Regions from separate parts of the Homo sapiens genome. Here region 2 is linked to region 1. Evidence: promoter capture Hi-C in human tissues and cell types (Jung and others, 2019). All regions are on one chromosome and are shown on one strand. The core of a region is centred on a gene start or on the middle of the fragment in contact, and the rest is flanking DNA. Distances in the headings are between cores, read along the strand shown. Region 1 holds the start of MYOG (myogenin). Region 2 has its middle 17 kb from the start of BMNCR.

Region 1 (4,554 bases), core at 930-3,429:
AGGCCCCTGCTACAGAAGTAGTGGCATCTGTGGCCAGCTTGGGGGGCTCGCAAGGATGCCCGGCTTGGAAGACAATCTCAGTTGGGCATGGTTTCATCTGGGAAGGCCACAGACACATCTTCCACTGTGATGCTGTCCACGATGGAGGTGAGGGAGTGCAGGTTGTGGGCATCTGTAGGGTCAGCCGTGAGCAGATGATCTGTAAGGGGAGGTGGGAAGGTGGTACCTGGGTGAGCAGTGGGGGTTCTTGAGGCCCAGAATAGAGGATGGGACCCTTGGGGTGACAGAGGTTTTCCAGGACAGATGAATGACAAAGCTCCGGAGTTCTACTCCCTAGTCCCTGCCTTTCCCCATGCTCTGTGAGTGTGTGTGTGTGTGTGTGTGTGTGTGTGTGTGTGTGTATGCGCCTCTTTTCTGAACTCCCCTAGTAGGTAGGGTTTGGAAGCAGCCACTCAAGTTGGAGCAGGATGGAGCTCCCCAGAGACTGGACCTGCCCTTTGCTCGGCCCAGTTTTGCAGCACTGACTCAGCACTTCACAGGGACCCCTGGGGCAGGGACATTGTCCTCTCTGTGGAGAAGGTCAACCACCAGGCATCAGCTGGGGAGCTGCAGGAGCTACTATCACTCCTTTGCTGGTCAAGACTGCAGGGGCACACAGAACCTCCCAGCCCACCCTTTGGGCCTTGGAGTCAGCAGGTCCCTAGAGAGACCCAAGGGAAGAGGACCGGAGCAAGGAATAAGGTAAGAGGGGAGAACCTGGCCCAGGGAGGGACTGAGGGATTGGAGCCAAGGTTACCAGTCAGGCCTTACTTACCCCCTGGGTTGGCGCTGAACTCCAGTGCACTGCCCCACTCTGGACTGCAGGAGGCGCTGTGAGAGCTGCATTCGCTGGGCACCTGCAAGACAGGGCGAAGGCCCAAGGTCGGGGCACAGCCATTCTTTGATGTCTCTCTCTGCCTAGTCCCAGTGGGCAGAAGTACCTGTGGTGGGGTTGGAGGGTGGGCCACAGGCTGTGGCCTTCCAGCCCAGGCCATCCCCAACCCCAGAATCTTTGTAACTAGCTCCTCTCACACCCCAGAGGCCCTGCTTCCAGGCCTTCCTGGCTTCCATCCTGGGTGGTGGTTCTGCTCTCACAGGACACCAGCTTAAAGGGGTCCCTGGTTCTCCTGACTCTGGCGATAAGGGTGATGGAGACAGATTTTGTGGCCCAGTGAAGGTCGCTCTGTGCAGGCCTGCTGGAGTTCCAATGAGACTGAGTGGGTTTTCTCTCTGCTCAGCCACACCCAGGATGGGGGCAAAGCAGTCTTCTCTGGTGAACTTGGCCTGGCCTTTTAGGCTCTGACTCAGGCGCTGGGATTAATCCTCACCCTCACCTGGGCTGACTGTGGCCTTGCTCCTGATCTTTCTTCAGTCCTATGTTCCCCACCCCAACCCCTTCTGCACTTCCTCCCCACTGCCTTTATCTTGTCTGGAAAGAACACAGGACACAGGAGGTCAGCTGGATAGCCCAGCTCTGACCAGGGAAGGGCTCCTGCAGCCCCTCGACCCTGTCTGGCACCTGCACCAACCCTCTGAGCCCCTCTTGGGGTCTTGAGGCTGTCCAGGTGCCTCCCTCTGGCCCCGTCCCCTTGGGGCAGGGGGATGGGATGGCCACTTACCCCTGGCTGGGGCCCGCCCCCGCCCCGGTAGCGGAGGTCACGCTCCTCCTGGTTGAGGGAGCTGAGCAGGGCCTGGAGGCGCTCGATGTACTGGATGGCACTGCGCAGGATCTCCACCTTGGGCAGCCGCTGGTTGGGGTTGAGCAGGGTGCTTCTCTTCAGGGCCTCGAAGGCCTCATTCACCTTCTTGAGCCTGCGCTTCTCCCTCAGTGTGGCCGCCCGCCGCCGGTCCACGGACACCGACTTCCTCTTACACACCTTACACGCCCACGGCAGGCACTGGCCTGGACAGTGCTCGGGGGTCCCCAGCCCCTTGTCCTCAAGGGGCCCTGGGGCCTCGGGGCTCAGGGTGAGCTCCGTCCGCTCGTAGCCTGGTGGTTCGAAGCCCTGGAGGTGGACAGGCAGGTAGTTTTCCCCATCATAGAAGCGGGGTTCCTGGTAGAAGTAGGGGGATGTCTCATACAGCTCCATGGGGTCGGAAAAGGCTTGTTCCTGCCACCAGCCCCCAAGCTCCAGCAGCCCCTCACGCCAACTGCTGGGTGCCATTTAAACCCTCCCCGCTGGCATGGAACCAGAGATAAATATAGCCAACGCCACAGAAACCTGAGCCCCCTCTAAGCTGTTGCTGCACATCAAGGCGTTTACAGTGGATTAGATGTGATTCCCCTTCTTTCTCCCGCATGGCCCCCACCCCACCCTGCCAGCCTGCCCCTGGCCCAGGCGGGCTCCTGTGCACGGGTCGGGAGGCCGTCGGGTGTAATTTGATTAGTTTTCATTTCTCAGCAGCCCCTGTGGGGCAGGGGCGTTGGGGGAGGACACATTCCCCTCTCATCTGCTCCTTTCAATTACTCCTAGCTGGGCGGCCTGCCTGCTGTCTCCTTGCAGTCCCGAAGAAGCTGGTGGGTATAGGGGGAGGAGGGAACAAGGAAGGGTAGGCTTAGGCTGGAAGGGGCCTTAAGAGCCAACTTATCCATCTCCTTGCTTCCTGACAGCACCTTAACCACACTACATCAGTCGATGAGACTCTTTTAAAGACTTCCCTCCGGAAAGAATGGGACTGCTTCAGATTCTGGGCATTCATGGGCACTCAGTATCCAGGGATAAGAAGGATCAAGACTCAGAGCAGCTAACAGATTCCACTTTTGGGGTTCCCAAGCAGCTTTGAGCTGTATGTTCTCTTAGGTCTCATCTGGGGGGGTAAATTGAGGCAAGAGAAATTATTTGGGTTTTGGTTTTCTTGGCAGGGGTAAAGAGAAATTTCCTCTTTAATACAGCAGCCGTGGTCAGAGCAGAGATTAGAATTTACAGCCTACACGTTGCCACCTTCCCCAGAGCGGCAAGGTCAAGATGTCCTAAGCTCCCTGTCTCCTCCCTGTCTCACTCCGGACCATTGATCTGTCCTTCTATGTTACCTCCTCAACTCTTTTTCCAACACCAGAATTTTCCTGGCTCATTAATGTGGACGGGGGTGAAAAAGTAGAAAAAACAGAGCCCTTCAAACTCAGTTTAAATCTCCTCTCTCCTTGGCCACCGGGCTTGGTTGTTCTGCCTCTTACTGTCTGAGCCATCAATTTTACACGTATCATGCAGGTCTCAAATGTCAGGTAGAGCAGGGACTATTTAATCTTCAGGCCTCTCAGGCCATGGTCACCTCTCAGTAGGTGCCTCAGGGTCTGAGAGGACAAATTCCTTCCAATGCAGTGGGCAGACCTTAGACACTAGCAGTGAACAAGGCTCAGTCTTAGGGCTGGGGATTATAGGGACACCCCAGACAGGATCCCTGCCCTCGAACTTACCATCTGATAGACAACGGTGATCACCTCTTTCTACCTAGCCCCTGATGCCCAAATCTCCTCCGAGGCGGCTACTGTTCAGCTTCTGCTCACGTCAGGAGACAGCCCGTTCCATTGACGTGTAGCTTTGGGCTGCAATCTGCTCCCTCTATCTTTTATCCTTTGTTCCCAGTTTTTTCCTCCCCATAGACTAATGTCCTGCTCCTTATCCTACGACAGATCAAACTGACAAGTTCAAGCCAGTGGCAAGGACAATAAGAGGAAGGGGAACCCTGCTGGGGACTCATGGGAGACTTCACAGGGAACATGAGATCTGCGAGGCATGTGAAGAACCAGTGTTCCTTCCTCTCATTATTCACAGCAGGGAGCCAGGAGAATTCTGATGTCCTTTTGGGACAGGAAATGGAGGGAAGGAGGGAACATAGCTGGACAACAAAAGAACCCTAAGCATGTTGAGGGAGAGCAGTGAGGTCTTAATTCTGTTCTTGGCCTTACCAGCATGATAGAAAGTAGCAGCATAGGCCGGGCGTGGTGGCTCATGCCTGTAGTCCTAGCACTTTGGGAGGCCAAGGCGGGTGGATCACGAGGTCAGGAGTTCAAGACCAGCCTGGCCAAGATGGTGAAACCCTGTCTCTACTAAAAATACAAAAATTAGCCAGGCATGGTGGTGGGCACTGTAATCCCAGCTACTTGGGAGGCTGAGGCAGGGAATTACTTGAACTCAGGAGGAGGAGGTTGCAGTGAGCCGAGTTCGCACCACTGTACTCCAGTCTGGGTGACACAGCGAGACTCTGCCTCAAAAAAAAAAAAAAAAAAAAAAAAAAAAAGTAGCAGCATAGGTACTGTGTGGGTTCTAAACTTTGCTTTCCCCTGACCAGCTGGGCTGAAGAAGAGTCTCTATTTCTAACACATCCCCTGCCAAACAAAAAAGAAAAAAAAAGCCTCAGTTTACCCTCCAGTCCTATGAGCCCTGAGAAAAGAAGTCATGTTGAAGCCACTATAGGAACCCCCATATTTGCATCTTTTGTTATTCCAGGATCCAGTGTGACTTACCTCTAAATAATGTGTCTTCTTCCTCTAAAATGGAGGCAGAGCTGGCTTGC
Region 2 (4,076 bases), core at 986-3,485, 340 kb after region 1:
GCAAGTAACCTGGAGGTCCTCGCATCCAGTCTGAGGAACAGGCTCTGAGCCTTTCCCTCTAGCATCCCTGACTATTGGTGAAGAGGAAGAGGCAGAGACTATCAATCCAGTTGATTAAAGGCTGTAATGGAATATCCAATATTCCATTGGAGAACGGAATGATGAATTCTGCTTTGACATGCAAAAGGGCAGGGAGAAGTAAAAGAGGAGGTATTGTCCGAGTTAGGGCCTGAAGGGTTAAGGGAGAAGCCAGAGGAGTCCCACAACAGAACATTGGGCTGAGCTGGGAAAGGACAGGGCTTGCATCCTGGTTAGCAACTCATTTGGTTGAGTTTACTTAAGGCCTCCCTTCCTCTCTTCTGCCCACAAATATTTATTGGCATCTTTTTTGTGCCACGTGCCCTGTTAGGTGGGAGAAACAAATATGAATAAGACATTCCTTTCCTTGAAGGAGCTTGTAGATTACTGGGAAGACAAACATGTAGAACTTCCTCCAGCCCTGGTCCTACATAGAGGACATACCTTCAAGGAGACATACCATAGATCCCAGAGTAGCATCTTGCTTGACCCCTTCATGATGCCAAGCAGCCTGCCACCGAGCCTAGAAACAGCCTCAACATCTTACCTCCAGGGCTCTCTTACAGTCTGTCCCATCTTGATGGTTGAAGAGATACTGAGTCTTCTCTGTCTGCTCTGAAAGCTGTAGAATTTTCCTGGCTGAAGGCTGGAGACTGAGCCAGATGACACTGTCTGCTCCAAGAGTCTATGGTGGGGGGAGGGGTTCTAAAGAAGCCTCAGAACTTGCCCTTCCCCTCAGACAGTCTTAAGGAGGGCAGAAGGAGGGACCCTTAGGAGGCCAAGCTACATCTGCTCTCCTAATTGTTTCTATTAATAGAAGAGGTGATAGGATAGTTTTCCCTTGTGCCTCACTGCCCTGGAGTCTAGATCTGGACAGAGGACAGGGGACAAACTTATGGAGTATGGGCAGTTGATGGAGAGGCCATGGGGGAAATATCACAAAATAATCCTCAGAGTGCTATGACCCTGGTAGATCTTGGGGGAAAGAGGCCAATGCTGATCAGTTCTTTTCAATCATCTCTACCAGGCATCTCCGAAGATCAGGTGCTCCTGTGAGGAGTTACCAGGAAGAGGAAGGCTCATTCCTTCAAGGTGCTCACATCGAAGTTGCTGAGACTAATATACAATGAGCATGTAGGTAAAGAGAATTGGCCACGCGTGGTGGCTCATGCCTGTAATCCCACCTATGGGAGGCTGAGGTGGGTGGATCACCTGAGGTCAGGAGATCGAGACCAGGCTGACCAACATGGAGAAACCCCTTCTCTACTAAAAATACAAAATTAGCCAGGCATGGTGGCGCATGCCTGTAATCCCAGCCACTCGGGAGGCTGAGGCAGGAGAATCGCTTGAATCCGGGAGGCGGAGGTTGTGGTGAGCCGAGATCATGCCATTGAACTCCAGCCTGGGCAACAAGAGCGAAACTCCGTCTCAAGAAAAAAAAAAGAAAAAAGAGAGAGAGAACTGCCCTGGGAGAGGAATTAGGGGCAAACTGAGCACAGAGGGAGGAAGGAGCCTATCCAGCCAGGATGATTAGAAATGGAGGGAGAGGTCGGGTGAGGTGGCTCATGCCTGTAATCCCAGCACTTTGGGAGGCAGAAGTGGGAGGATTGCTTGAGCCCAGAAGTTCAAGACCAGCTTGGGCCACAAAACAAGCCCCCATCTCTCTTTAAATAAGTAAATAAATAAATAAATTTATATATTTAGATAAGCCATTGTATCGGTTAGGACTGCATTTGGCTGCATGTAACAGAAACCTGACTACGAGGTTTAAACAAATAGAGGTTTATTTGTCTCTTGTTATAAGAAGTGTGGAGATAGGACGGTGCAAACCTCAAGATGTCATGAAGGACCTAGGCTCCTTCTGTCTTCCAGGCCAGCATCCTTAACATGTGGTCTTTATCCTCTTGGTTATAAATTGGCTACTCTACCCCCAGGCTTAGACTTTCCAGGGAGCAAGAAGGGGAAAAACAAAACACACATGCCAGACACAGGCCAGCTGTCTCTTCCTTTTTTATTTTAAGGAAATTAAAAGATAAAAATAAATATTAAAAAATAGCTGGGCATGGTGCCGTGTGCCTGTAGTCCCAGCTACTTGGAAGGCTGAGGTGGGAGGATTGTTTGAGCCCAGAAGTTTGAGGCTGCAGTGAGCCGAGATCATGCCACTGCACTCCAGCCTGGGTGACAGAGCGAGACCCTGTCTCCAAAATAAGTAAATACATAAATCCCATTGGCTAGAACTGTGTTACATTATCACTTCTAGCAACGAGGGAGCCTGGAAGCAATATTTTTAGGATGGCATATTGATCTCCCTTCCTTAAACAAAATCAATGGACTGTAAATGAAGAAGGGGAGAAGAGATGAAGGTTATGCAACAAGCAATGTCTGCCATGGCCCTAAAGAATGAGTAGAATATGCTGGACGATGTGGGGAAGGACTTCCAGGCAGGGGAAACAGCAAGAGCAAAATCTCAGTGTGGGATGGGAGGGTGCCAGGTGTGTTTGGGGAATTGGAAACAGCCCAATTGGAGCAGACGATGTCATCTAGTTCAGTTGGAGCTTAGTGGGAAGGATGGACAGGGCAGTTTGCATGGCCTGGGTTTGTGGACTTGCCCTCCTGCCCAAACTCATACTCTGTGGTGCAGTGGATCAGGTGATGGGGGACCAGTAACAGCAGACAGTGAGCAACATCTGAAAAAGTCAGGTTCAGCTGCAACAGTAGACAGTGATTGGAATTCAGAGAAAAGCAAACTATGACACATCTCCTGACAGCCTGGCAATGACAGGCACAGGGCAGAAGCCTGCTGGCCTGGACTGATGGGCACACTCAAGCCAAAACAGACCCCCGCAAGATAACCTATTGTCCTGAGTAAACAGCTGAATGAGATCCATGCAGCAGCCTCTTGTCTAAGGTCTGTTTATTATTGTTATTCTCCCTCCCCACGTCTGTCTTCTCTGTCTCAGCTCTTCCAGGCTGCAGTAACCAGCTGCAGGATCATGCAGAGCAGACAGGCTGTGCAAAGGGGTTGGTGTGGAGGGTGCAGATTCCAGCTCTAGGGTGTGTGACAGCTCTTTATTTGACTCTTCCTGGAAGTTCCTGAGATGACCTCTATACAAAGAGAGGGGAGGGGGCTGCAGCTACCCTATGCTGTACCTACATCATAGATTCCCAGCTTCCTTGACTGGGAGGCACTTCAGAGGTCTTGGACTCCATCTGTCTACCATCAGCAAACCTATCTAAACTGCTGGCTCTGAAGCTTAATGTACATATGAGTCACCTCACCTTGTGAGCTTATTAAGAATACATTTCCTTTTCTAGCTCTTGGGAACTTGGTAAGGAAAGAAAAAAGAATACATTTCCAAGGCTCATCCCCAAGGACTCTGATTCCCTAGCTCTGTGGAGTCTAGGAATCTGCATTTTACCAAGGCACACAGGAGAGTCTGATGCGATTGGTTGGTTCTCAGCCACGCTGTTTTAAAAAACTTTTCACAAATATATATCCCTAGGTTTCAGTTCCAGTTCTGCCACTAACTATGATCTTAGACAATTCATTTTACCTCTCTGAATCTGTTTCTTCACCTAAAAATGAAAAACCTTTTCAGTTTAAATCATTTTTTGTTAACATTCTCAGGCAGTTACACTTCAGCATCATTTTAGGTGGGTAATTCTCAAATAGGTTTTCATGTGGGGTGTTTGTTCTCTGAGAAGAGCCTCCTGGAGATTCTGAGTGCCCTGCCATGGGGCTTGCCCACTTCCCTTTCCTAGATTTCAGAACACTTCAAATCGCCACATTCATGCCATTCCATAGCAGTTTAGATTTGTCATTTGTGCCTCAATAGCAGTCCACGAGGGTCTGAGCCCAGAACCTGGACTCATGTTTGGTTGCTGATTCTAATTTCTGTTCCCCCAGATGGAATCCCTCACCTTCCCTTGGGAACCACTTTCTGTGTGGACTTTCCTCAGTGCGGCTCATTTCTTCCTGCTGGCCTCTGAGGCGGTGG

Evidence for each region. The method cuts DNA at HindIII sites, captures the fragments that hold promoters and counts their contacts. A contact is called where the count stands out against the background at its distance.
Region 2: a contact is called between a fragment that was not itself captured here and the fragment with the promoter of MYOG in region 1, in 1 of the 25 tissues and cell types used here (thymus).

The regions. Positions count from the first base shown.
Region 1 is chr1:203,083,833-203,088,386 of GRCh38, forward strand. It overlaps MYOG (myogenin), which reads right to left and starts at 2,180. Exons shown (of 3, transcript NM_002479.6): 1 at 1,659-2,180; 2 at 815-896; 3 at 1-199. The coding sequence starts at 2,129. The coding sequence ends at 78. MYOPARR (myogenin promoter associated myogenic regulatory antisense long non coding RNA) reads left to right here. Exons shown (of 3, transcript NR_160550.1): 1 at 1-147; 2 at 540-741; 3 at 2,651-4,508. RefSeq lists an enhancer at 3,499-4,016. The HindIII fragment of the contact is 26,934 bases long and covers 1-4,554 here.
Region 2 is chr1:203,422,481-203,426,556 of GRCh38, forward strand. No RefSeq gene overlaps it. Among named protein-coding and RNA genes, the nearest start is that of BMNCR, 17 kb to the left of the region's middle. The HindIII fragment of the contact is 5,786 bases long and covers 1-4,076 here.